7 separate regions of the Homo sapiens genome follow, and regions 2, 3, 4, 5, 6 and 7 are each linked to region 1. Evidence: promoter capture Hi-C in 16 types of primary human blood cells and fetal thymus (Javierre and others, 2016). All regions are on one chromosome and are shown on one strand. Each heading gives the region's core, a stretch centred on a gene start or on the middle of the fragment in contact. The rest is flanking DNA. Distances are from core to core; before and after follow the strand shown.

The links. Contacts are between HindIII fragments. The CHiCAGO score rates a contact against its expected background, and 5 or more counts as called.
Region 2: the fragment with the promoter of RINT1 here is called in contact with the fragment with the promoter of THAP5 in region 1 in 1 of 17 cell types (non-activated CD4 T cells); the score reaches 6.3 in non-activated CD4 T cells.
Region 3: a contact is called between a fragment that was not itself captured here and the fragment with the promoter of THAP5 in region 1, in 13 of 17 cell types (M2 macrophages, total CD4 T cells, fetal thymus and 10 more). The highest score is 27.9, in M2 macrophages.
Region 4: a fragment that was not itself captured here is called in contact with the fragment with the promoter of THAP5 in region 1 in 1 of 17 cell types (M2 macrophages); the score reaches 5.8 in M2 macrophages.
Region 5: a fragment that was not itself captured here is called in contact with the fragment with the promoter of THAP5 in region 1 in 3 of 17 cell types (M2 macrophages, M0 macrophages and activated CD4 T cells); the score reaches 11.4 in M2 macrophages.
Region 6: a contact is called between a fragment that was not itself captured here and the fragment with the promoter of THAP5 in region 1, in 11 of 17 cell types (M2 macrophages, fetal thymus, M0 macrophages and 8 more). The highest score is 24.7, in M2 macrophages.
Region 7: a fragment that was not itself captured here is called in contact with the fragment with the promoter of THAP5 in region 1 in 1 of 17 cell types (M2 macrophages); the score reaches 7.7 in M2 macrophages.

Annotation. Positions count from the first base shown.
Region 1 is chr7:108,567,490-108,571,606 of GRCh38, reverse strand. It overlaps THAP5 (THAP domain containing 5), which reads left to right and starts at 1,901. Exons shown (of 3, transcript NM_001130475.3): 1 at 1,901-2,117. The coding sequence starts at 2,038. DNAJB9 (DnaJ heat shock protein family (Hsp40) member B9) reads right to left here and starts at 1,733. Exons shown (of 3, transcript NM_012328.3): 1 at 1,504-1,733. RefSeq lists enhancers at 1,578-2,305, 1,839-2,318. The HindIII fragment of the contact is 6,219 bases long and covers 1-2,844 here.
Region 2 is chr7:105,530,901-105,534,989 of GRCh38, reverse strand. RINT1 (RAD50 interactor 1) reads right to left here and starts at 2,789. Exons shown (of 15, transcript NM_021930.6): 1 at 2,633-2,789; 2 at 2,121-2,166. The coding sequence starts at 2,674. RefSeq lists enhancers at 2,017-2,593, 2,439-2,618, 2,709-3,008, 2,594-3,171, 3,459-3,508. The HindIII fragment of the contact is 4,822 bases long and covers 2,536-4,089 here.
Region 3 is chr7:111,728,703-111,732,735 of GRCh38, reverse strand. DOCK4 (dedicator of cytokinesis 4) reads left to right here. Exons shown (of 53, transcript NM_001363540.2): 52 at 449-510; 53 at 4,016-4,033. Among named protein-coding and RNA genes, the nearest start is that of DOCK4-AS1, 78 kb to the left of the region's middle. The HindIII fragment of the contact is 5,943 bases long and covers 1-4,033 here.
Region 4 is chr7:111,590,826-111,595,045 of GRCh38, reverse strand. No RefSeq gene overlaps it. Among named protein-coding and RNA genes, the nearest start is that of IMMP2L, 30 kb to the right of the region's middle. The HindIII fragment of the contact is 7,955 bases long and covers 1-4,220 here.
Region 5 is chr7:111,767,163-111,770,902 of GRCh38, reverse strand. DOCK4 (dedicator of cytokinesis 4) reads left to right here. Exons shown (of 53, transcript NM_001363540.2): 37 at 1,226-1,374. Among named protein-coding and RNA genes, the nearest start is that of DOCK4-AS1, 39 kb to the left of the region's middle. The HindIII fragment of the contact is 1,827 bases long and covers 1,517-3,343 here.
Region 6 is chr7:111,748,989-111,753,196 of GRCh38, reverse strand. All of the region lies in intron 42 of DOCK4 (dedicator of cytokinesis 4), which reads left to right. Among named protein-coding and RNA genes, the nearest start is that of DOCK4-AS1, 57 kb to the left of the region's middle. The HindIII fragment of the contact is 225 bases long and covers 2,528-2,752 here.
Region 7 is chr7:111,707,791-111,711,734 of GRCh38, reverse strand. No RefSeq gene overlaps it. Among named protein-coding and RNA genes, the nearest start is that of DOCK4-AS1, 99 kb to the left of the region's middle. The HindIII fragment of the contact is 2,299 bases long and covers 811-3,109 here.

The DNA.
Region 1 (4,117 bases), core at 652-3,151:
CATACAGTATCTATTACCTGTCCACATGTAATTTCACTTTTAGTTTTATAACTCTCAAACTGGCTTAACCTTATTGAGAACAAAAATAATTCTTGGCTTTGTCTGTCTACTAATACTCTGGCCATACACAGAGGAGATAGAAAATTATCAATAACTGACTTTTAACCAGTTTATATTGAAGATTCATCATATGCAAGCATTGTAAGAAAAAAAAAGAAAACCAAATAATATAAGATCCCAACTTTCCTTTCAAGACTTCATATCCTGAAAGTAATAATGTATTTAACTTCACAGAAAAAAAAAACATTAAAAAAAAAAGGTGGCGCACCAAGGTAAATAGCCCAGTATATCTAAATTAGTATTATTAATCTCGCTCCAAAAATTCAGCTTTCATTTCAGCAGGTGAGCCAAGGACTGCAAATAGAGAATCTTAATATCACAATACTAATACTGACAATACAATAGAATGTTGTCTTTTTCCCAAATGTAAGATCCCAAATGTTTAACCAGGAAGCATGGCTAAATATTGTTTAAAACTCATGATGAACAGAATTTAAGATTTCTGCTAAAGCTGCCAGAAAAATGAACTTTGATAGTTTGTACTGTGGTTAAGGCAGATTCTTACTTTCACAAACTCAGTAGTTAAAATATTTCTTTTACCTTTAAACCATTAAAGAAATGTTAACTTAGAATTCTTGACAATATGTATTCAATGACTTGAGATTCAAAACGAAGGGATGGATCCTGTTTTTTGAATACGGGACCACCAGAGTCCTTAGTAACCTATAATGCCATAATAAGGCTGACGAAAAACACTACGGTTTGTGGAAATTGCCTGGCTTCCTCTCCAGCGGCCTTTCCTGAGAGTAATTAGCAGGCAGGTAGATTACTTATTTCCAGAGAGTTACTCGTAGTCACGGGTACCAAGAATCAAGAACCACTTCTCGGTTTAAGGAACACAACAGTGTGTCCCATGGACGCTGCGTCAACTGCAGGTTGCTCCCTAGTCAAAGGGCGGATCTAAAACTGACAGGGAGGCGCCTCACTGGTTCAGCAGACGTTATTCCACGGTCTCAAGGTGGACATCTAATGATTTTTTTTTAGCAGACTAGTTTTGTATTGTACAGACTTCTCATCCCCAAGACGGCCCCGCCAGCCAGCAGCCCGTGCCTTATTCCCCAGCCTCGGTGGGCGGCTGGGCTAGACCCTCCAACCTTCACCTAAAGGCGACTGGCACTTTCCCTGCCCGCCCAGGCCCCGCCGCAGAAGCTGCCCGAGACCCGGGCTCTAATCCGGCGCCCGTGAAAGCCGGCGCCACAACCCAAAACACGATTCTGTGATGCGGCTGTCTCCGTTCTTCCATTCTCTCGGCCAAAAACATGCAGCCCATTGTCCCTGCGGCGACCGTGGCGGACACCGAGGCCAAGTCAGCTCACAAAGACAGGCCTGGGCTACGGGGACCCTCCGAACTCCCCTCCCCACGACCCCGGCCTCGTCCCTCACCTGCACCCTCCGACTACTGCTGCTCCTCCACAGAGCTGAGGCGCTGGCGACCCTGACGATCGGCTCGGGTCGGCAGCTTGGGCCCGGCCCCTCACCGCGGCCTCCCGGAGCTGGCACGCACCCTAATCTCGGTCGTACACCGACCTAGCGCTCCTCCTTCCCCGCCGGCGCCCAGTCCCCTCTCAGCCAGCTCCTCACAGGCAGGAGGTAGCCGCTGGCGCCACCACCTCAGAAGACCTACACGAAACGCTTCCCCATTGGCTTCTGCCTCCCCACGTGATCCCGGCGCCCTACGCGCACGTGGAAAACTGTTGTTGCTGCTAGGGCTGTGCGCCACTTCCGGCTTCAACCCCCGAAAAGGCGGTGCTTAAACCGGAGGAGGCGGAAGTGAGTCGACAGACGAGGCGGCTTTCCCGGCAGAATGCTAGCGCAGGCGCAGGGGCTCGAGAGGCCTGGACCTGTGGCGCATCCTCAGTGAGGAGGGCCGCCCTGCATCCGTCGCCGGCCCCGGTCTCCAGGGGCCTCACCCGAGTCATGCCCCGCTATTGCGCAGCGATTTGTTGTAAGAACCGCCGGGGACGAAACAATAAAGACCGGAAGCTGAGTTTTTATCCGTAAGTTGTTTCTGGAGCAGAAGCGTCAGCCTCGCCGTGAGGCCTTGGACCTGTGGCCTTTGGGCTTGGGTGTCTCCTGTCCGCTCTGCCAGTGAGTCCTCAGCTCTCCGTACGTGGCCCGTCGCCCGCGGCAAGACGGAGGGAAGGCGCTAGTTCAGTTTAGCTAGCAATGCCCTTCTTGCGCGAGGACTGCTGGCTGGTGGCGAGGCCCAGGAGCCTGTTTGGGTGTTAACAGTTAAAACAGTAAAGTTTGCGCGGGCTTCTGTGGTTTTCAGTCTTTTCCCCACTTCACGTGATCTCATTTCATTGAACAACATTAACCACCATTTAAGATACGTGAAACCTGCGAAGTGGAAAGGTGCACGCAAAGTTAATTTACACCCCCCGCGAGGTAGGTCGCATAGGTATAATTTCATCCCACTTTTCTCCTGAGGAAACTGAGGCCCGGAATGATTAGGTAACCGACCTTGAAAGTTTAGTGTCAGAGCCAGAATTATAAACTAGTCTTCTGCTTAGGGCTGTAGATACTCTGCGGAGAACAAGGTTTTATTCTGTTACTCTGAATTACTAGAGCCACGATATATTTCCATCAAACTACTGAAGCACTGATTTTTATTCAGAAGTACAGACAAGCAGTGTCGTATAATAATTAGGGGTCCAGGCTTCAATGCTAGATCCTGGTTCCACTATTCTGTAGCTTAATGACCTCTTGGAAAGTATTTAAGCTTTGGTGTCTCACATATCTCATCTGTAACATGGAGATGTTAATAGTACTCACATGATTAATAACACATGAAAAGCAACATATTTAAAATACTGCATTTCCATTTTTTCTTGTATTTAAAAACAATTCATTTAGATCTAACCTGGTTCAGATTTTCAGCAGTTGTTTTGTGCTCATTTTACTTTAGACCTGAAGGACTTATTCATTAATGATTCGGCTGCTTTCCAGTATTTTAATTAATGGAAAAAAAATTGATAACCCCACCAGGCGCGGTGGCTCACGCCTGTAATCCCAGCACTTTGGGAGGCTGAGGCGGGCAGATCACCTGAGGTCGGCAGTCTGAGACCAGCCTGACCAACATGGAGAAACCCCGTCTGTACTAAAAATACAAAATTAGCTGCGCGTGGCGGCGCATGCCTGTGATCTCAGCTGCTCGGGAGGCTGAGGCAGGTGAATCGCTTGAACCTGGGAGGTGGAGGTTGAGGTGAGCCGAGATCACACCATTGCACCACAGCCTGAGCAACAAGAGCGAAACTCCGTCTCAAAAGAAAAAAAAACTGATAACCCCAAGTAATTCACAATCCATGGCAATATTTCCAGGATTGTCTCCCTTGAAGCCCAGCCTCAAGATGCAAAGAGATGTTTGGGGGAGGAAAACAATCTAATCCACTTTCAGTTTATAGGGAAATACTACTGTACTAATGGCTCTATCTCTGAGAATGTTTGTAGCAAAAGATCATGTTGAACTTGATTTAACCCCGTATTTCCCAGATTTATTTGGCCTTTGATATTGGAGATGGGGTATAACCCCACACTGAAATTTTTAACTAAACTTTGTGGACCTTACAGTAACTTTTTAGGAAGGAAAAAATAATGCAAGTGAATTGTAAAGATTTTTTTCACTGAAAATGTGAATTTAGTAAAAGTTGTATTATTTCTAGGGTTTTTAAAAAATTTTCTTGTGTAATCCACAAAATAAAAATTGAATTAGTTTTATTCTCCAGTAGCGTCAAACTTGAATTGAATTTGCTCATGTTAACACTACAGCAAACTGTAGTTTAAATGTATATGAATTTGGGAATTCAGTTAATATAGTGTCCAGTTTGTACTGTGATTATCTTATGCCTTTTGGGGAATTACATAAGACAATGAAACAAAATTATCAAATGAATTGAACCAATATAAAGACATAATTTATTCAGGAAACATGATCAAGATTTCTTAGAGATTTACCTATTGAAGCAATACAATCCAGTAAACAATAAGGATATTCACA
Region 2 (4,089 bases), core at 1,540-4,039, 3.0 Mb after region 1:
TGCAAAATGTAAATGTCAGATATTGGTCAACTATTTATGTAAAGATTAACAGAATATATACCAATGTTTTATACAGAGTATGTTCCTGTCTCCACCCCTACACCCCAACAAACAAAATTTCCTTTGTTCTACTTAACTTATATGAATTAAATTAAAAGATTTTTCACATGCTGTGAGAATCAGGAGGTGGTACTGACCTTTTCCCCCTTTCCTGTTCAGTGCAAGATCCAGAACCCAAGCTATACATTGTGCCTTCCCAGAGCAATTTTAAATTGACAATTTAGAGGGTAGGAGAGGCAATATTAACATAACACTATGCCTCAATTTTCCAACTAGAAAACAAATTGTAACATTTGCCCCAGCCTATATCTCAAGGTTATAAATGGGACTATATAATACAAATTATATATTAATTATACTATATAATTATATATAATATTAACGTATAATAATCTACTATTATGTACAGAACTCACAATGCCTTTTTTAAATCTTAAATAAAACAAGTGATTTGTGTGGTGTATCTGCAGATAAATGGAGGCAGGAAATGTTTTGTGAATGCTAAAGTTGCTGTATCTTAGGGAGGAAATTCTACCTTCATTTTTTAAAAAAAATTACACCCACTGAGCACAGTGGCTCATGCCTATAATCCCAGCACTTTGGAAGGCCGAGGACGGTGGATTGCCTGAGGTCAGGAGTTCAAGACCAGCCTAACCAAAATGGTGAAACCCTGCCTCTACTAAAAATACAAAAATTAGCCGGGTGTTTGGCGGGCACCAGTAATCCCAGCTACTGAGGAGGCCGAGGCAGGGGAATTACTTGAACTCAGAGGCGGAGCTTGCAGTAAGGCGAGATCGCGCCACTGCACTCCAGCCTGAGAGACAGAGTGAGACTAAGTCTCAAAAAAAAAAAAAATTACACCCTTGATGTGTAACCATTCAAATGTGGCATAGTACATTCTTAGTGAAATGACATTCTTCAAAATGACACACCGGTGGTTTGGGAGGTTTTTATGTGTCTCCTTTTCTATTTTTTGTAAAGAGCACTCCTAACTGCAAAGCAGTTTGAGCTGTGGAAAGAGGAACAAGGTCAAAGTCCTTGATATGATAGTCTACATCTATTATTTTATTAAAATGACAGCTCAGTAGGCATCAGACTACTTTCCAGGCATCTGAATGAGGCAAAGGTGGAAAATGGAAAGGGAAGGGTTTAACTGAGAGATACAAGGCACTCTGAAATCCTTCAAGAAAAAGGAGCTGAGATGTGGCAGTTATGACAGTCATGTGCTATGGACTGCTCAGAGCCTTCTTTCTGAGGCAGATTCTATCAGCCGCTAATGTTAAGGGCAAATCTTACTCCTAAGGGCCATGTGCTAATGTGGGCACCGTTTTTCTTACTGCTACACATTCCCAACTGTTTGCCACAGTCAAAAGAACCAAAAATCCCAATAGCAGAGCTATCACATGCTTTTCCCCTTCCTCTCCCAAAAAATGTCACTTCAAAGGTCCCTAAAGAGCCCTTGATTTGCAATAACCTGCCATCAAAGTAAAATGGCAAAAGTCCACAACCCTGACATATACTCCCGTACTAGGGAGGAAATGGTGGTACTGACCTTTTCCCCCTTTCCTGTCCAGTCCAAGATCCAGAACCCAAGTTATCCGTTGTGCTCTTGCCAGAGCAATTTTAAATTGCCAATTTACTGAAGGTGAACTAAACAACTGTCATTTGCCTCCTTTGAACCCAATTAGGGTGGTGGTCGTCTGTCCTAGATCATGGGCCCCTCCAAATTCCTGATGCTTAGTAAGTTGATGTTTCATTAAAATGACAGGCAGGCCCCAATTATTCTGAGTACTGTATGATAGGCAGACTTCCAGCGAAAACACTCTAGTCCCTGTACTAGGTATGGATCGGGAAGTGCTCTTCTCCAAAGCATCCCATATTTTACAATTTTAGAAAGACAAAAATATGTGTATCATGGTCATCAGTATTACCATATAAGCATATTGTGCAGAAAACGGTACTGCATCTAAAAGATAGGCAAAGAACCTTTCTATATTGCAGACCCTGGAAGGCTGAGTTTGGGCGGGAAGAAAAAGCTAAGGTGTTTGGAGCTGGCTTACTTTTCTCCTCGAGGTTCTTCCTTTCGTCACCACTTTCAGAGCAGCACTAGAAGAAGAACAGATGTGACAAGCACATTAAGATTAAAGTCGTGGATGGAAAGCATACGGGGCTCCCAAAGGGCACCCACTGGAGGCAAGAGAGGTTCCAGACGCTCTCCCACTTTCTGAGCGACCAGGGCCGTCCGAATCAGGTACCTCAAAGTGCCACTGTCCTGGTGCCACCGCCACCTTCCCAGGAGGTGTGTGTCACCTCCGCAGGACCTGGAGTTACCTTGCCTGCTCACTAGAGCCACCTCCCTAGAGAAATCTGTCATCTCACCAGGGCCGCCAAAGCCACTTCACGGGGACTACCGCCTCCTCTAGGAGGTCTTACAAGGGCCTCTAATCTAAGCCGCAGGAAGCACCTTCACAAGCTTACAGGGCCACCGCACCGGGACTATCTCCCCCGGGAGGTCTGTGCCACCTCAATGGGCCACCAATGTCCCCTCCCAGGGACGCCAGGGCCGTCTCACCGGGGCTGCAGGAGAGGCGCCGATCTCGCCGGCTGGTAGCATCTCGCCTCCGCGCGAGTCCTCGGCTCCATTCGCAGCCAGCGTGGCCTGTGGAGTCTGGCTAAGGCCAGCGACACACTCACTACCCAGCCTCGGAGGCCGTAGGACTGAGTGCCACAGCGACTTCCTCTCGATGTCTCACTGGTTTCTTCCTCTCAGCCCAGAGAGGCCCTGCCCGTGCAGCCGCCGGCCGTGCTCTGTTCCTCCCCCTCCTGACCGGAGGTCGGAACGGCCACTCAGGAAGCGGGCACCCTCCCCTATGGAGCTCCAGAGAAGGGATTCGCTCACTCCACCGCGGTAAAAGTCCCCTCCACTTTATTGAAGCTCTTAATGATGGAACTTTAAGATATCCCTCTCCCAACGCCTTAAATTCAATATGAATAATTTAAATTTATATTTTAGGCAATATCCAGATGTTCTGAGAGTGTGGGGGGCTTGTTGACTAGGAGCTTCGGTGCAGGGTTATTTGGTTCGAATATTTAGTTGGGGGTTTCCAATGAATGTCAGTATCTTTAGATATTTCTTTTAACGTTGGTCAGAGTCCCTAGAGATGAGCTTCTGATTTCCTGCCTAGAGGGTGTAGAGGTGGTTATAAGCGTTCTGGGAGCTGAATGAAGAGAACAGAGCATCTAACATGTGTTTCGCCCAAAACCCTGTCTTTTACCAGGGAGGAGGAAAGGGAGCTACCTAGCAGCAAGGGTTGTGTAGAGGACCTGTGGACTTGACAGCCTCTTAAACAAACTAACACGGAAGGAGTACCATAGAGACCATAACAAACAAGGGGGGGGGAAAGCAACCCTCAGAGGAAAAAGAAACCACACGGTGAGAAGAAAAATCAAATACATGTGCACAGAGATATATAATCGAGCTACAAATTACTATTGCAAGCATAAAACAAGGATGGCTGGGCGCTGTGGCTCACGCCTGTAATCCCAGCACTTTGGGAGGCCGAGGCAGGCAGATTACGAGGTCAGGAGATCGAGACCATCCTGGCTAACATGGTGAAACCCCGTCTCTACTAAAAATACAAAAAATTAGCCAGGCGTGGTGGTGGGCGCCTGTAGTCCCAGCTACTCAGGAGGCTGAGGCAGGAGAATGGCGTGAACCCGGGAGGTGGAGCGTGCAGTGAGCAGAGACCGCACCACTGCACTCTAGCCTGGACGACAGAGCAAGACTCCGTCTCATTTAAAAAAAAAAAAAAAAACAAGGATACTATTTTTTAAATTACCTATTATGGGAACATAATCGTATATATTTATAGTGTACATGTGTGTTTGTTTTTTTTTTGCTCAGGCTGGGGTGCAATGGCGTTATCTCTGCTCGCAGCAACCTCCGCCTCCCAGGTTCAAGCGATTCGCCTGCCTCAGCCTCCCAAGTAGCTGGGATTACAGGCATGCACCACCACGCCCGTCTAATTT
Region 3 (4,033 bases), core at 626-3,125, 3.2 Mb before region 1:
CCCGTAGACCTGTTCCAGGCTGCTGGGGTGGCCATGGTGTTCCCATTGGTGCTCACGCCAAAGTCAACAGCTGTTCCCCAAGAACTGCTCCCTAGCATCTCACACCTAAAAGCACCTTATGAGACAGATCAAGCAGTGCAGAAGCACCTGGACTTTGGGGAAACGGAAAGGACATTGGATCAGTTTGGGAACCTGTCAATAGTCAAAGCATCATATATGCCATGATAACTTTTCACTGATGCTCCCATATCTTGGCAGTGCCACCCTTTGTGAGAACCCATTCTAGACAGGCATCATTTAGCTTCTCCCCCATCCTCACCACCCCCTTTGCTTAGAAGGTCCTTATGCACTGGATCATCTGTTTGGGTTTGTAACACAGAGGGCATGTGCAGATAGTCAATCGTCTGGTTTTTCTTAATTGAAATGTTATCTCTCTCCCCATTGACAGCTTCACCAGCAAGACACACGACATCAGTATCCCCCTCGCCTGCCGGGCGATCTCCATTGAAGGTAAAGGCCCTTCTTTCGACTGAGGCTAGAGACTGGCCCAGTTTTCTTTTTCTCTAAGACTCATCCCAGATATATCAAAAGGTGCTTTAATTTGCAGGGACCAGGCAAAGAACTTATCAATCAGGGATAGGGGAAGCTGGTTGAGAAAAACAACACTGGACTTTCCCTTCTGGGTGCCTCCTGCACAAACGCAGCCATTTGTTTTTCGATTATTAGCCTCATTCTCCAAATGGTAGCAGTGAGAACTTGCAGACTGAAGTCAGTGCATATACTGAATTAGGAAAGGAATGTGGTCCTAATGTACCTCCTAGGAAACTTTCAGCCTGGCCTTTTAGTTTAAGGTACATCAAACACACACACACACACTTAGATTGAGAAACATCAGTATCAAGATCTACTAAATATTCTGTGTCTTTTTGCCTTTATCGTCAGCCAAACCCATTTTGTCAAAGCCAAACCTAACATTCTCTGTTAATATTTTATACCAAGTTTCTCATTTACATTAGAAATACATACTTGATCATGAAAAACAAGGCAGTAATATGGATTTAAAAGATTTCTAGGGAACAAACTGGAAAGCTGTAAAGGTCAGACATTCGAATTGGTTTGTAGACATGGGCTATTTAACATCTTTAAACATAAAAAATCCCTCATGAAGATAAAGAATAATATTTAGTCTTATCCAAATTGAATCAGACCGGCTTCAAGGATTGTCAGTACGTGAGAGATTGGTGTTCAGAACTGCTGCACCAGAGGCAAATATGAAGTGTGTCGAAAGAATGATTTTGTACCTGAGTGACTTAGGATTTACACGCTCCATGTCCTTTGTGTGATGAGCTAGTTCTAGCTAATGTGCAAAAGACAAATTAGCCTCTACAAACACATAGGGGCAGGTTGCGATCCAGTGCATCTGTGGTGCTAACGATAGTTGCTGATAGAAATTGAGAAACGGGAAAACAACCCGCCTCCCCCCGCAAAATGGAGAAAATTGAAAGAAGTGTGATTCCCTTGCATTGCCAGAATTTCTGACGTAGAAATTCGCGGGTAAGTGCAAGTGATTTGCTCGTTTTGTTCTCATTCTGTAATGCAGCTGTTATTATGAAGTACCTGTGACAGCATTCACTCTGGAAGTCATAGCCTGTCACCTCGATGTGATAGAAAGGAAAGCAACATGGCTTTTCCGCACTTTTACATTTGCCCTTACTCACACAGAGCTCCCACACGTTGCTATGGAATTATCATCTGTATTTTTCAACTTAAATTTTGTTGGGTAGTAAGAAAATAAGTCTTAAGAGATTAATTCTTAAACATTAAAAAGAACCCAAGAGCTAAAAATGTTTGAATAGCTATAAAATAGTCTTAGCAAGCTGGTATATACTGTCTCTCAGCAGACCTGTGTACATTTTTACTGGCCATATGCAGTTCGAAGCCATGTCTTTATATGTAGGGTTTGAAGGAAGAGAACATAGATCGAACATTTGTGTTATACCTCCTGGGTTACATTAGGGGGCACACTGCTACCATGTTACTAGCCTTGCAGTGTGCTGCCTTAACTGATAAGAGTTTAGTGGGGTTTTGGGTTTTTTTTTTACCCCAGCCAGCCATCAAACTGTGGGTCTAACCCTACAGCGAAGACTGAGCTGACCTGCCATATTTTGAATTTCAGGTCTAACTTTTGACAGAGGTAGCAGTGAATTGGGAACTCTTAATTGGCCTTAATGTTAGGCTCCTACTAAATGACAGGATGTGTATCTACCAGCGTTATTTTGTTTACAAAGAGAAACCAAAGTCAAGTTAGCTTAAGAAGATAGCATTTCTCAAAGTGTATACCATAGAACACTAGTTTTCCAGGACATTATGTAATAAGCGGGGGAGAAAAGGTCTATAGTCAAGTAAGTTTGGAAAACACTGGACTGAACAAAATTATTTGTATTCCTTTATTCTAAGCCTTGAAAATGCGAATATGTTTTGAATATACACAAGGAGTATACAGTGTGCAGCATTTCCCAGCGGAACCCTCTTTTCACAGAGCATCTATCTTAGGACTCGTTTTCCTTGGGATACTAGTTGGGAAAGTAACAAACTCAGATGCCAAATGGGGCCAGACAGCTGACACAAATGAAGGAGGCCGGGTGTAGTCCCCACGTGGCATAGTGGGGACTGGCAAAGTGAAAAGGGACAGCCCTTCTCAGCTTTTAAAGATTATCTCTATTAAGAGAATGTGTGCCATTGTGGCCAGAACTCCTAGTTCTTTATGAACTGCCAGAATTCTGGAGTTTCATGTGAAATTTGAAATGTTAAAAATTAACTAAATTAGGTTTTTAAAAAACTGCTGAGGAAACAGCTCACATCACAGGCTACAGCCCCGAGGGCTGCCAGTTCGCCAGTTCAGCTCAGGAGTCTGGAGTCTGGAGTGATGGCTGGAGAAATCAGGTGCAGAACCTCGGGTGCCTCTGCTCCTCCTCCTGAGCTCTCTGGGTCTTCTGAGCTGAGTGTGCTCAGCGGCCCTGGCTCCTGGCCTGCAGCATGCCCTGCTGAGCTGGGAAAGTGAATAGCGCCCCCAAAGGTTTTATGGCGTTTTTAGGTTTTTGGGGTTTTTGGCCAGTTCCCTCTCTTCCAAACTATAGGACTAATGTGTGCCTCCAGATTATCTTGGTGGATACCTTTATTTATTTTTTGAGACAGGGTCTCATTGTGTTGCCCAGGCTGGAGTGCACTGGTGGCTCCACGGCTCACTGCAGTCTCAACCTCCCAAGGTTCAGGTGATCCTCCCAGAGGAACTGGGATTACAGGCATGAGCCACCACGCCCAGCTAACCCTTTGGATTTTTAGTAGAAATGGGGTTTTGCCATGTTGCCCAGGCTGGTCTCAAGCTCCTGGCCTCAAGTGATCCCTGCATCGGCCTTCTAAAGTATTGGGATTACAGGCGTGAGCCACCATGCCCAGCTCCTTTCTCCTCTATCTGAAAATGATAAGGAGTAAACTGGGCGGTGAACTGAACTCGAGGACTGGTGGCCCTCGCAGATAAACGTCTGGTGTGCATTTTCAGTGCTACAAAGGACAACACTCAAATTTGAGTGTGAGTGTATTCGTCTGCTCGGGCTTCCCTCACAAAATACCACAAACTGGGTGGCTTAGACACTGGGAATGTATTTTCTCAATTCTGGCAGGTAGAAGTCCAGGATCAATGCGTGGCAGCCTTGGTTTCCCCGAGGCCTCCCTCCTGGGCTTGCAGACCGCCCTTCCTGCAAGGTCTGTGTGTGTCGCATTCCTGACGTCTCCCTGTGTGTCCAAATGTCTCTTATAAGGACACCAGTCAGCTTGGATTAGGATCCACCATAATGGCCTTTTACCTTAATCACCTCCTTAAAGGCTGCATCTCCTGCTGCAGCCGGCTTTGGGGGTGCTGGGGGCCGGGGCCTCCGCGTCGGGGCGTACATTTCAGCGCATCTGCGTTCACGACTCAATGCTGTGTCTCCCTCTCGTTTCCTTCTCCCCGGAGCAGGGCTCTGTGCAGTCTTTC
Region 4 (4,220 bases), core at 1,633-4,132, 3.0 Mb before region 1:
GAATGCTAGATCATGTGGTAATTCTATGTTTAACTTTTTGAGGAGCTGCCATACTATTTTCCATAGTGGCTGCACCATTTTACATTCTTACCAGCAATATGGGATGGTTCTAATTTTTCTACATCCTTATTGCTATGGTTTAAATGTTTTCGTCCACTCCAAAACTCATGTTGAAACTTAATCTCCAAGGCAACAGTGTTGGGAGATAGGGCATGATGGGAGGTGTTTAAGTCATGAGGCTCCACCCTTATGAATGGATTAATGCTGCTATAAAACAGGCCTGCAGGAGTAGGTTCTCTCTCTCTCCTGCCTGTTTGTCAGTTGAGGAAACCACGTTTCTTCTCTCCAGAGAACTCAGCATTCCAGGCACTATCTTGGAAGCAGAGAGACCAGTTCTTAACTTGCCAGTCCCTTGATCATGAACTGCTCAGCCTCCAGAACTGTGAGAGAATAAATTTCTGTTCTTTATAAATTATCCAGTCTGTGGTATTTTATTACAGCAGCACAAAACGAAGTAAGACACTCACTAATGCCTAGTGTGTTCAATTTTTAAGAAACAATAGCCATTTTGATGGATGTAAAGTAGTGTCTTATTGTGATTTTGATTTGCATTTCCCTAATAACCAGTGATGTTGAACATCTTTCTATGTGCTTATTAGCCATTATTATATTTTCTTTGTCTATTTTTGAATCTCAATAAAAGATTTTTAAAAATTCTATATGACATTTTAATATACAAGTTGCCACATTTTAAAATTACACTGATCTTTAGTCACACAGGGACTTTGGTTGGAAGAGAAGATTATTCCTTGATTCTCAATTCTAGGATTTTCAGTGGAGAGCAATTGACTTTTAATTTCTTTTTTATGATCTCATAACAGAGTAAAGAGGATTCAGGACCTTCTGATTTGTCAATGCAGAGGACAGAGCTGACATAGAAATTCTTACCACTCTAAATACAAGGAAATGCTAAATAAAATATTACTAGTTCATTCAATCAATGATTTTTTTAATTCCAAATACGATCAGGGAAATTTTTTTCTTTGGCTTGTTAGCAATCATCTGAAAATATAAAATATCATTAATTATATAACACTACTTTTAAATACAATTTTGGCAGACAAATGGGAGGGTATATTAAAAAACGTTAATTTTTCCTTTTTTCAATTTCCATCTGACCTTGTATATCATGATTAACAGTTTATTTGAAGGATGTGACAAAAAAATTAAAAAAAAATAATTTCATGATTTTCCGGGATTATCTTTTTTCTCAAAGAGTCTCAAATAATATGTTTTTAAAAAATTGTAAAACGTTTCAACCAGTGTACATTTTCATGTAATCAGCACTTCCCCCAGTTTTTCTCCTTGATGTTCTTCTAGAAACTTTGTCAGGAAGACTAGTGAAGAATTTTGAATGGGCACAATTCTGGGTGTTCTGGAACGTCTGACACTGTCTGGCTTACTCTCCAAGGTAAGGTTATCTGATTCTGTTGGAACCTGTGCTTTGGACTGCCCTTGACTGAGCTATTTTACAACTCAGGAAGTTGTAAAAAATTGACTGACAGTAAAATGCAAATTATTCTTTTCCATAGACATGCTAATGAATTTTATCATAGAGATATAATTGATTTCCTCTCTGTAGAAAAGATGATTCCAAACATTACAATTTAGTACCTATAGGATCTATTAATTTGCACATATTAGCACATTTACTTCAACATTCCTGCTTGCCTACATATGACTGTTTCTATTCTTTTTTGAATAGCTTGTAATATCTTACAGGGTCCTTCATTAATTAATGAGTTAAATAAAAATTTTCACATATGCTCTTTTAATATTTGTATTTTGTCATTTTGAAAATCATCTTTTAACAAGTTTATTATCCTCAATAGGTATTATGTACTCAGTTCTCTCATCAGCTTAGGTAAACCTATAATATAAACAAAAGTTTACCTTTGAACAAATTAAATTTTTTCCAAATAGAAAGAAAGTCAACATTTACTAGGTTTTGCCTGCTTGCTTATTAATAAAATATATGCTGATTAATTTTAAAAAGCATTATTTAATGTTCCCTTACCTCCTCTCTACCCTCTAAATTCTAATTGTCTGTTGCTTATTCAATCTAGGGCTCATTTCCTTTTTGACAAGATTACTAGGCTGATAGATAAAGGAAATGTTATAGACACAGTATATCTGGACTTAAACATTGTATTTATCCTAGGTTGGATAGTTTTCTGTATAATAGGATAAGTGCCAACTGGGTAAAACTGCAAATAATTCTGGCCCTGCCCGGTTGAACATTTTATTAACGACTGTTATGCCTATTGTGGGGCTGACTTAGATTAATTTTTGTGGAACACATTCTGTTTGTCAGGCACTTTTACTATATCATTTAATTTATGATTATTATCTTTATCCTGTATGTACTCAAGGGCCAAATTAAGATCAGTGATTAAAAGTTATAGAGAAAATCATTTCACTGAATATAAGAATAACTTCTTAGTGGTTAGAACTCTCTGAAAATGGAATAGTAAATTTCATGAAACAGAATATAACAGAATGATTAAGAACATAAAGTTTAGTGTCAGGTAGACCTTCATCTGTGTGCTCCAGGTTCACCATACAGTAGCTTCTTGAGCTTGGGGAAATTCCTTCTTTGTTTCCTCATCTGTGAAATTAGGATATTAGTAGTACCTACCTCATAATGTTTTTGTGAGAAGTAAAGGAGATAACATTTTAAAGTGCTTTTAGCACATAGTAAGCCTTCAACAAGTGAGAACTTAAAAAAATACTATTATTATTATTATTATTATTTTGTTTGTGGTTTATGGAGAATGAGAAACACATGGAGCAGAATCACCCCAGATGAGCTCAGCCTACCCTTAGCTAATCTGTAGATGCTTGAACAATAATAAATGTTTTAAACCACTGAGTTTTGGGAATGGCTTGTTATAGAGCAATAGCTTACCGATACATCAAGGTCCCTTTCACCTCCAAAATTTCATAATACTGTGGGATTATGCTATACATGTTGCCTCTTATTTGAAAGGTGAATTACAGGCACTTCTCAACCATGAAGTAAAGAGTAAAATGTATCTATTTCTCATCACTGATGCTTGCCTAAGTTTCCACTTACGAGAGAATTGCTGTCTCAAGAAGCAATACAGGATTACTAATCATCTTTCTCATTTCTTCTACAATTCTTTCACATATTATCTCTCAGAAGGATAGATGTTTTCTGGCTTGTTACTACAAAAAAGTCTAAGTCTACATCACAAGTATAAAATGACTTATCAATTAATTTAAAAAGCATTGCTTGGTGTTTTCAAGGTATTCAAATATATATTCTTAAGCATTTAAACATTAATCTTTTATGAACTGTTCCCGACATTGCTAATGGATGAGTAGGAGAAAGAGAGTTCTAATAGCCTCATTCATGTCTTCAGAAGTCTAGGAGTCCCCAGTTTATTTAAAATTCTGGTTAATTTTAGTTACTCATGCTCAAGGATACTCTCTGAGCATCATGTCCAATTTACTTTCAGTTTTTGAATTTACTCCTAGTTGTGTACAAGAAATGCAATTAGCAATTCTTGTTTATTTGGGACTGATTATCCAAATTACTATTTCCCTTTCTATTTTGCTTAATTTCAAAGCTCCTTTACAGAAATTAAACAGGCCCATAAAAGGAGATAAAAACTCAAATCACACAGTTTTTATTTTATTATGTGGTGAAAAGTATTAAAATGTTTTTGATATCATTTTCAATTAACTATGAATTTTATCAGTAATTCATTCCTCTGCCCCATCTTAGCATAGTAGTGTTTAAGATATGTTTACAAAGTTTAAGGCAATAGTAAGGTTTAATTAGGTAACCAGTTATTTTGAAAGAACCAGGTTGTTTAATTGAATTCAGCCTTTTCTTTTTTGAAATAGGTTTTTCAGTTTGGTGAAATAGCAAATTATTGAGATTGTGAAGGGCTTATGTTGGCCTTTCTATAATAACCTTAGGTATCCCCATCCATTATTAATTCAAGAATTAAAATTAATCCTTGGGACAAAGGAATAAATCCTATATTGAGTAGTGAGATGTGCAGATTCTTCTTAAAGTTCTGATATTCAGCTCTTCTATGGTCTTGGACAACTTTTCCAATATTAATGCAAAAAGACACTTATTGGGATGTCCACTGATTCTGTCTTCTCTGGGAACTGTTCTTCCTGTT
Region 5 (3,740 bases), core at 1,181-3,680, 3.2 Mb before region 1:
CTATCTTTTTTACATGGAGATGGCCACATCATAGCATTATAACTCAGCATATTACTTTAGGGCTTTATGTGTAGTTACCCTAAAGGCAAATAAATGAAGAAAAGGAATTACCATTATTGATACCATCTTAAAAGCTATCATTATGTCTTTTGAGAAACCTGAGGTGGAGTTAAATGGATTAATAACATAAGTATTTGTCCATTTTATTCAATTGAGTAATTGAGTAGGCTATTATGACATTATAGGAAAAATTATTATAGTCCTTTATCAGTGACAATTCTGGTTCCTATTCTTGATCTATTGGGCTATATTTACAATTCAGGAAAAGGAGAGACCTGCAGAATGGCAAGTATCCTGTCAAATACACTATCTGCCAACCATACTTAAATCCATAGGTCACCTTTTCCACTTATGTGTATATGGAAAATCACCCCTTGTTTCTGCAGGAAATCCAACCATGCCAAGCATGTAATGATATCAGTATTCTTTACAGAAGATTTGTGGGGCCATCTGGGGCAAGGCAGTCATATCACACAGCCTGCAACGGTTCTTTCTCTCTCACACACACAAATACACCCACACACCCACACACTCCCCCCACTCCTCATGCAGCACTTCCACCCTCTCCAATCCCTACCCTGTTATTAGATTTTTTCTTTTTCTTTTTTTTTTTTTTTTTGGTCTTCACTCAGCTCCTCTCTGGCTTCTTTGCCCCTTGTAAATTCTGCCTCCACTCTGAACCCCCTCCTCACCAGTTTCGATTTTTCAGCCCTTTATTATCCCAAAGAATTTGCCATTTTTTATTTCCTAAGCCTGCCCTTTGGGGGATGCTCATAGTCCCCAAGGAACTTACTAGTGAACTCTCTCAGCAAACAAAGGCCTGTCTCCCCACATCTTTGAACCAGCAACAGCATGATATCCTTACACATTTTGATTATACTGTAGCATACAGACATTTTAGGGAAGACAAAAACAAAAGACAAAAACAGAAACGAAAATACAGGAAACAAAAGATGAAATACAGATCTGATTAGTCCAAGTCCATCATCCAGGGGAAGTCCTCGTTCATTACCCTACTGCTGCATATATTCTGGATATTTTTCTGCTATATCACGAAATTTAGAAAATAGTATTTTTTTTCCCCAGTTTGTCGGAAACTGGCCACATTTGAGGGAATGTGGCTTGGGGTCCTGTCTCAATCATTGTCTTCTCACGTGACTTGCAGAAGCTGCATATACCCTCCTCTTATATGACGAGCTACTGGAATGGTCTGATCGGCCCCTCAGGGAGTTCCTGACCTACCCCATGCAAACAGAATGGCAGCGCAAAGAGCACCTGCACCTCACCATCATCCAGAACTTTGACAGAGGCAAAGTAAGTGGCCCTGCCCCGCCCGGGGTCCCTCCTGGGGTGATGGTGTTGATGTCCCTTTCCCTTTCATTTCTAGTTTATGAATGCCCACCTCCTTAAGCAGGGATCCTCACATCTTAATGTATATTAGAAACACCCAAAAGCTTGTTAAAATGCAGATTCCTAGGTGCCACTCCTAGCCATTCTGATTCATTTTGATTCTGAATGAGCCATTCTGATTCGTGCCTTGTCTGGCATGAGGCTGGGGAATCTGTGATTTTAACAAGGACCCTAGGAGAGTCCAATGTGCATGACCTTTTCATTACACTTTGATAAACACCGATTTAGAGATTTTGATCCCCAGTAACATAGTCCATTCGTGGCGGCTTTAGCAAAATACCCTAGACTGGGTAGCTTATAAACAACAGAAATTTATTTTTCACATTTCTGAAGGCTGAGAAGTTCAAGATCAAGGCCCTGGCAGATACAGTGTCTGGTGAGGGCCATCTTGCTGTATCTTCACATGGTGAAAGGGGCTGGCTAACTCTCTGGGGCCTCTTTTATAAGGGCACTAATGCCATTCGTGAGGGCTCTACCCTCATGACCTAATCACTTCCAAAGACCCCATTTCCTAATACCATTACCCTGGGGGTTAGGATTTCAACATATGAATTTGTCAGAGACCCAAACATGCAGACCATAGCACGCAGATATTGTATTCTCTGAAAAACCATTATCATCCTTCACACTCTCCCGAAATTGGCATGCATTCTGCTCCATTATACTTTAAGGTAAAATATATGAAACTTAATTTGTTTAAAGAATTTTGTGGCATCCCATCATATACTTAAGAGATGCCTTGAGGTGTTGAAAAAACCTCACTGACTTCATAAAGCAATTCAGTACATCACCTCCCTCCACTTCCTACCCCTCTTCAAGGGCTTGTAGTACTCTTTTAAAAAATTCATGAATCTGACCGCCATTGTTTATTGGATTTGAACACTTGGATGCTTTGGTGGTACATGTCTTAGACTCAAATTTATCTTCCAGATTGCAAAGGTTAAACAGAAAATTAAAATACAACCAATGGCTGTAATTCTTTTACAAAATATAATTGGGTACACGTAAAAATTTGATGCAAGGAAGTTGCTTCTTCCACATCTTCCTTTATTATTTATCTAGGTACACTGACATATCATTACATGAATACCAAAAGAAATGTTTTTGTGCCCTCCTGCTGTAAAGTTTCCACCTGTGGGATAAAGTGGTGCAAACTCTCTGAATTCATTTATTGGTCCATCCCCGGGAGTCTGTGCTAGATCAGGGGTTGCAAACTATGGTCCACAGGTCAAATGGCTCACTGTCTGTTTCTGTACAGCCCCAAAGCTACAAATCTCTTTTACGTTTTTAAATGGTTGAAAGAAATCAAAGGAATCATAACATTTTGGGACATGTGAAAATGATATGAAATGCACATTTTAGTGTCCCTAAATTCTTATTGGAACACAGCCATGCTTAATTGTGTCTATGGCTGCTTTGGTGCTATAACAGCAGAATTGAGTACAGCAGAGTTGTGACAAAAACTAAATGGTCCTCAAAGACTAAAGTTTTGACTTTCTGGCCCTTTGCAGAAAATGTTTGCTGACACCTATACTAGATTAAAGAATTTTTACATTTCTGCTGAGAGTAACCAACTTGGTTAGACCTCTCACAATTTGCAAGCACAACTAAGCCAAGCAAGGAATCCAGGGTACCAGTCACAGATAATTGGGCCTTAGGGGTCAGTGGTAATTCTCTCCTCTGCACTGAGGGCCTGTTTATATCCATCTACTCGGCCATTGTGGAACTGTAGTCATTTCAAGATGATTCTGGAATGACACCAGAAAATATAGTTCATGTACAATATATTAATGACTGTTGTGGTAGATTATCGTTTCCAGCATTCAAAGGATTTTTAATAATTTACATTTCAATTACATGGTGTTTTCAAGCTTGAAGTCTCAAGGTGTTTTATAAAGATTAAGAAGTGGACGGGCGCGGTGGCTCATGCCTGTAACCCCAGCACTTTGGGAGGCCGAGGCGGGTGGATCATGGGGTCAGGAGATCAAGACCATTCTGGCCAACATGGTGAAACCCCATCTCTACTAAAAATACAAGAATTAGCTGGGTGTGGTGGTGCGTGCCTGTAATCCCAGCTACTCAGGAGGCTGAAGCAGGAGAATCGCTTGAACTAGGGAGGCGGAGGTTGCAGTGAGCCAAGATGAGGCCACTGCGCTCCAGCCTGGTGACAGAGTGAGACTCCATCTCAAAAAAAAAAAAAAAAAAGATTAAGGAGTAAGGCTTGGTGCTCTGAAAGCACTCATGTTCTGACTTTTGGGTAGAAGTAAGTG
Region 6 (4,208 bases), core at 1,391-3,890, 3.2 Mb before region 1:
AGCCTTATTAATGTAATGCATTTGATTAAAGGAACCTGCCCTAGATCCTGCTAGGGGTTACATAATATACCATATATGGCCCTATACTGCCTTTCTAAAATCTGAAAAGTTCTTCATTCTGAAACATGTGGCACCAAAGGTTTCAGATGAAATTGGGGACCTTTATTTTCTAAATCACAGACCCCCCCCCCAATAGCTTATCAACTTTTGTTAAGATATCAATGCCTTTGAACTATTGTTTCCTCTGTAGTTTATTATTTTCAAAACCCAAAAAAAGTGTTTTTGTCCTGATTAAAAAATTAGCTCATTTCAGCTGGGTGCCATGGCTCACCTGTAATCCCAGCACTTCGGGAGGCTGAGACAGGTGTATCACCTGAGGTCAGGAATTCAAGACCAGCCTAACCAACATGGTGAAACCCCGTCTGTACTAAAAATACAAAAAAGTAGCCGGGCATGGTGGCACGCACCTGTAGTCCCAGCTACTTGGGAGGCTGAGGCAGGAGAATCGCTTGAACCGGGGAGGCAGAGGTTGCAGTGAGCTGAGATCACACCACTGCACTCCAGCCTGGGCAACAAGAGCAAACCTCTGTCTCAAAAAAAAAAAAAAAAAAAAAAAAACCTAAGCTGATTAAAAAATTTTTAATCAAGACAAACATTTATAGTTTAGAATCCATAAATGATTTTTTAAAAATCCAACTAAAGATTACGAGAATATTTTCATACCACATCCTGCCCATCAGAAAACAATGTGCCTCTTTCTAAATACTGTATACCCAGAATCTAACCACTCCTCAGCGCCCCCACCGATAGCGCCACCTAGTGCCTGATTACTGCAGTAGCCTCCTAAAAGATTTGCTTTCCCCCTTATCCCTGTAGTCTCCTCTGTACATGGCAGCCAGTGACCTTTTTAAACTTAAGTTATAGCATACAAAAATAGAGAAAATGTATAATGATATAATGAGCCTGACTTACCCATCATTGCTTCAACAGCCATCAAGCCAATTTTGTTTCATCTACATGTCTACCTGCTCCCTCTCAACTGGACTATTTTTGAAGTAAATCTCAGATGTCATATCACTTCATCTACAAATATTTTAGTATTCATATTTATTTTTAAAAACCTGAAATATTGTCACATTAAAAATTAACAATAATTACTTGATCATAAAATGTACAGTGTTCATTCCACACTTTACCAAGTCTTTTATTCTGCATTTTAGACCAGCCTGGGCAATGTAGTAAGACACCGTCTAAACAGAAAATTTAAAAAATTAGTCAGCATGGTGGCATATGTCTGCAGTCCTAGCAACCTCCTACTCCAGAAGTTGAGGCCAGAAGATCACTGGAGCCCAGGAGTTTGAGGTTACAGTGAACTATGATCATACCACTGTACTCTAGCCTCGGTGACAGTCTCAACCCTCTTTTTTAAAAAAAAAAAATTATATATTTTTAGGCCAGGCATGGCGGCTCATACCTGTAATCCCAACACTTTGGGAGGCCAGGGCAGGCAGATCACTTGAGGTCAGGAGTTCAAGACCAGCCTGGCCAATATGGCAAAACCCTGTCGCTACAAAAAATACAAAAAGTAGCTGGGCATGGTGGATCACGCCTGTAATCCCAGCTTCTCAGGAGGCTGAAGCAGGAGAATTGCTTGAACCCAGAAGGTGGAGGTTGCAGTGAGCCAAGATTGCACCACTGCACTCCAGCCTGGGCAACAGAACAAGTGAGACTGTCTCAAAACAGAAAAAAAAAAAATATTTTTACTCTATTATTCGAATCCAGATTTAAATAAGGGCCATGCATTGCAATTGATTGAAATGTCTTCTAAGTCTCTTTCAATCTGTAAGTTTCCCCTTGCATCACTTTCCTTATTTTTTTATTGAAGAAACTAAAGACTGTTTATCCTGAAATGTTTCCGTATGTGTGGATTCTGCAGACTGCATCCCAGTGAAGTCATATAACATGTTTCTCTGTCACCTGTATTCCTTGTAAATTGGTAGTTAGAACTAGAGACTTGATAAAATGTTTGCTTTTATTTTCACAAGACTACTTCATACTTGGTGTTATGTGCTACTGGTTGTCGTGTGTGTGTGTGATGTTGGCAGCCACTGGTGATCATTGACCAGATCCATTAATCTTTTATGGGTTGCAAAATGGTGATATTTTATTTCATGTTTATTTACTCATTGGAATACTCTGTAAAGAGAAATGTCCTCTCACTAAATATTTGATTACCCTGAGGTACAGGAAAGATAATGCTGTATTCTACAAAAGCGACTGGAGGGGTTTTTGTTTGGTTGGTTTTTGGATCATTAGTAACTCATGGATATAAGTATATTTGTTTTGTTTTAATCCATGGCAGTTATTAAATTTAAAAATGTTCCATCTTTGCCTGTTGGGAGCATCTTCAAAATGGCTCCTGAGTCTGTTTTCACAGTATCCAAGTAGTGTTTGTTACTGAGCTAACACACAGGATCTGATTGTCAAGTTCGATGCAGGACTCAGCGACCCCTCCCAGCATCAAGCTTTACTAGTAATTTCAAGGCAGGCAGGATGCTCAGATAAAGCAGCGAGATTTCTGAGACATTACACATCGTCTGCTAGGTCCTTCTTCCCCACATCAGTAATAATTCAGAATTATAGGTGGAGTCCCTGAGGTTCACAGGGTTCCTCATTCAGAAGCACGTTTAAATTATGAAGTGTCGATTATGAAACATTCCATTTTCTACTCCAGAGAGTTAGTTGTAAAGCTTCTCAGGGACATTCTGTAATCATGCCTCATGGATTCTGGTTTATTTATTTACTTAAAGAAATCCTTTGACTGGGGACTTTAGGGCATTCTGTAGATAACATCTCTTCCTCCTAGCAATTACTTTTAGTCTGTTTACTTGAAGGTTCAATTGACAAAGAGATAAGACATAGTCACCTGTCTTTTCTGTCCCTTAAGGACATTCCCCAGTAAAGAAAATGAATGGATCACAGGCCAGATACTTTCATGTTTTCCTCCCATCCTTACCTTTACCATCCTTCCTGGTAAGACGAGGTGGTCTAGGATCACTTGAACATCTCCTGCCCCAGACCTGAAAGCAGCTATTTCTCCAATGACTCCTTATTCATTTTAGTGGTGAACAATATTTAGAGATTGTAATCTGAAGGATAGAGGAAAGTAATTCTTGGTGAACACTCTATCACATATCTTTGCACACTTCTTTGACCGTCCCCTTATATTTCCCTAGAAGTGAATTAATCAAAAGTATCCCCACTGTAACCACTGATTCATGGCTCAGCAATGGGATATATCGTTTACACCCTGTCTAGAGGGGATAACTAGTCTTAGGAATACTTATTTCCCCAGCATCTTCTCCAACACTAAGTGTTGTATATTTTAATCTTTCCAAATAATAGACCAAAATTATACTGGGGTTGGATGTTTTGTTTCAGCATTTTTTGAATGCTAAGTGAAGATATGTTTTCATATATTGATGAACTCTATACCAATCATATCCTTTGCCCCTTTTCTTCAGTATTTGGCAAATATTAACATTTTATCTATCCTTCATGTTGGAAATATTTTCCAAGTCGTTTGTATTTTGCCTGTGTTTATTATGTCTTGTTTTATTTACTTTTAGAAAATTTGATTTTTAATAGCATTTGAATTTATAAAGATGAAGATTGCTTTTTTCTTATAGCCAAAAGCACATAAAACCTACTATTGTAACCATTTTTATGTGTGCAGTATGGTAGTGTTAACTATATATACATTGTTGTGCAACAGATGTCTAGAAGTTTTTCATCTTGGAAAACTCAAACTCGATATTCACTGAACAGAAGTTCTCCTCTCCCCTTTCCCCTAGACCCTGGGAACCACCATTCTATGTTCTAAGATGTTTTGCTTACTTTTTAACTTTCAGTTACTCAGAGCTCTCAGACTTTTCCTTTATGGTTTAGGTTTTGTGTACATAAAACAAAGGTTTAGTGTTACAAATAATCTGAAAGTAAATACCCGTTTTCCACCATTCAGGTAAAGAAACAGAACATTGCCAGCAGTATCCTGCAGGCCTCCTGTGCACCTCTTCTCAATTATAGCTCCATCTTCACCATAAAAGTAGTCACTATCCTGACTTCTATGGTATCCATTCCCTTGCTTAGTGTATCACCTATTTGCCTCTCTAAACAAGTCGATTTGGTTTTACCTGGTTTTGAACGTT
Region 7 (3,944 bases), core at 711-3,210, 3.1 Mb before region 1:
ACTGGACACAAATTGTGGTGCTAATCAAACAAGACAGCACTGGAAGGAATTAAAGTCTCCTATTTTCATTACCAATTACAAGCAGGCCACACTCCCTGAAGCTGTTCAGAAGACAGAAATATGAAAAGAAAGCACTGTTGTTATTCTGACCTATAGGTTTCCCTGGACTTAGTGACTCATTATCCATTCATTCAACAATTATTAGACTATTACATGTTCATAAATACCCTCTCAGAGTTCACTTTTTAAAAATTTAAAAAGAGAATTAACTAACCCTCAGAGTCTCAATGGTATTATTAAAAGGACAAACCACAAATCCCAAGTAACTAGAATTATCAAAGTTTCAAAGGATTTATAGCTAAGATGTGACCATTTTCTTGTAATGAGACAAGACAATGGGACTGCTATGACACTAGAATCACCTACCAGGTCAGACCTTCTGCTGGGGTAACTGAGCAGCTGTAAGAGCTAACAGCTGAGCATAGTCTAGATTTTAAACACACACACAAAGCCCAAATCTTATGGACATCTCCAGTCATGGCTTATGCATGGTTTATCCATGCTTTGGGTTCAGGATGAGAAAGCAGGGGGTCACCACAGGTCTGCAGGGAAACCAAAGAGCATGGATGCTCAGAAGGCTAACACTGGTGTCTCTTAGGCATTCTCAAGGGGAAAAGAGTGCCAGCCTTTAGACCAGGGTCAGAGACAGCCAATGTCCAGCAGGAGTCAGGATGGGGAGCGTAAAAAGTCCAGTTCTATAAACTGACACTCACATGGAAGACTTGGGCTTAAAACAAAGACTCAGAAGCTTATTCACATAAAATAGGTAAGAGGTGGAAGTGATCTTTTCAGAGAGCAACTGAGAAGCCCATAATTCTCCCCAGAATATCACATCTCAGATGAAAGATGAAGCAGGTACATTGAGGATGCAATTCTGGAGCCTCATGTAGAGTGCTGGGTAACCCCATGCCAGGTCAGGCCAATTGCTAGAGTAAGTCAATGCTAGAGTCAGGGGTGGGATCTAAAGCAGGAATAAATTTAAAGTATTTTCTGCTTCCAATATTAACTCTGGAACCAAATAGGACAGAAATTTCACCTGAGGTGGGAGGGACACAGGAAATATGTGGAAATGGTAGATTTATCAGCTGGAAATGCAAAGACAAGACAAATGAAGAGTCAGGTGGCTGCTGGCATTTGTTTACTGACTAATGATGCCAATAGGAACTCCAGCTCTTTATTTTCATTACACCGTCCTTAACGAGGGTGCTTTTTTCCTCCTGTGTATTTCTTCATGGGCACAAAATTACTGCTGCAGTTTCAGATATCACAGGTCCAGATTATAAGAAAGGTGGGGGTGAATGGGGAATGGTAGAAGGAAGAGCAAAACAGCTATGTTTACAAAGTCTCTCTGAGCCCTCTTCTTTTTGCTTAGGATAGCTTTGGCTATTCTGGGTCTTTAGTGGCTCCATATAAATTTTAGGATTCCTTTTTCTCTTTCTGTGTAGAATGTCATTGGTATTTTGATAGGGATTGTATTAAGTCTGTAGATTGCTTTGGGAAGTATGGACATTTTAACAACCTTGATTCTTCCAATTCATGAACATGGAATATCTTTCCATTTCTTTATGTCCTCTTCAGTTTCTTTCACTAATATTTTATAGTTTTCATTGTAGAGATCTTTCACTTCTTTAATTACTGGGTATTTTATTTGCAGTAATTGTAAATGAGATAAATTTCTTGATTTCTTTTTCAGGTTGTTCCCTGTTGGCATATGGAAATGCTACTGATATTTGCATGTTGATTTTTTATCCTGCAACTTTACTGAATTTATCAGTTCTAATAGTTTTTTGGTGGAGTCTTTTTCCAAATATAAGATACCATCTGTAAACAAGGATAATTTGACTTCTTTCCAATTTGGATGCCCTTTATTCATTTCTCTTGTCTGATTGCTCTAGGTAGGAATTCCGAGCCCTTTTTTCAACTAGGTCCTTGCTTTATTTCAACTAGGTCCCCTGATATCTCAGTCTGATCAAAAAGTCCTCATCACCCATCCTTGATATCTGATCACCCTGGCCTGTCTTCAGCAACAATGCTGTCAGGTCAGTTTAGCAAGAATCCCCCTACCCTTGAGATCTTCTCTGAGTTATTTATTTTCCATCCAATAACCGTTCATCCTTCTCATTGGCTGTAAGTCCCCAGGTGTCTTTACTGTATTCAGAGTTGAGCTTGACAAAGCTCCCCTATTGTGATTGTGTTGGCACCCATTACAATACTCCTGAATAAAGCCTGTCTTACTGTTTTAACTAGTGTCAGGATAATTTTTTTAACAATGTCTCCCTTTTTTATAGGTAAAAATATCCCAAATCCCTAAACAGACACCAGTACATCTCATTTGCCAGAACTGTTGCACAGTTATCTCTAGCTGCATGGTAGGCTAGGATAGTAAACATTTTACTTGGTGAACATATCACTGCCTTGAATAAAATTGGGTTTCTAATAGCAAGCAAAAGAGAGCAGTGGATATTTGGGAGGCAGGTAACAGTGTCAGCCAGAGAGACCAGAATGCCATATAAACTAGTACAAGAGAGGATGGTTAAATGGGCATCTCCAATGTAGGGAAGCCTGAGGTGCTCCAGCAGTGGGAGTAGATAAGAGTTGCTTGGGGAATAATTTGAGATGAAAGTGTGAAAAAGTTGTGAGTATGAACTGTCTGGAAGGGATTGAAAGGAAGAAACAGAATGAGCCAAGGCAGGAAGCAGCTAGGTGTTGGGAATGAAAAGAATCACAGGGGAGGAGTAAGAAGAAATGAAGTTGGAAAAGTTTCAGAAGATGAGAGGTGAAATCAACTCAACAGGGCCACGACTGCTCTTTGAAAAGTACTTCTCATAGTAGAACGATACTAATAACAGTTTCAGAATATTTCATTAAAAATATTAGCTAAAAGGAATTATTAATAATTACCCTCAGTAGATAAAATAAGTATTAACTGAGTGAATCCTATAACCCAAACCCTATTCCAACTACTTTCTTTCCTATCATCCTAATGAGGAAACTGAAGCACACGAAAAGCAGTTTACTCAAAGTCACAGAGCCAGTAAATATCAAAGCTTGGATTATAAACCCACATAGTTCTTATATTCTTTCTTTGTCCCCATATTCTTGATTCTATCTAATGCCTACTGCCTCTCTCCTCTGAAAGGAACAGGAAGAGGTTCCTTGTTCAACAAGACATTCCTCTTTATACTTCATTGAAACAAAGATTGAGTTAACTGTGGAAAAACTAGTAAACTTTCACACATCAGATGCCACTGATTTGGTAGAGATTGCTAACCCCCTAGTATCCATTTTCTCCTTCCTTTTGTACTAGAATCCCTGTATTTTAGCTGGGCTCATGGCAGAGACTATTTCTCAGCTTCCCTTTAAACTGGGAATGGCCACGTGACTAAATTCAGGCCAATAGCAAGTGATCATAAGCGATGTATGCAAATTCTGGGACAACTCATAGCTGCTTGCCCTGCACTAAAGCCTTTTCCCCTCACTGCCAGCTGAAAATGAATTGCAGCTGCGGTCTTGGGCCTAGAGACAGAAGTTACACATTGAAGGCAGAGATAACTAGTTATGTAGCAGAGCCATTTACCCATCCTAGAACCTTTAAATTATCGTGTGTGTGGTAGGGGGAAGGACCTTCTATCAAATTTATTCTACAGTACTTAAGCAGTTTAGAATGAATCCTAACCATTGCATGTAGAATTTGAATTAGAAAATTGATGCAAGGTGTGTCAATAAAATTAAATCATGTTTGCAAGGGCTTCTTTTTGGACTTTTGTGCCAGTAAGCTGTACGTAGAAAATGATAAACCAACACACTTGGTATATTTTTACATATATATGAAAGAATATTTTCAGTGAGTGTTCTGTGCGTTTATGTGCATGCACACGTGCATG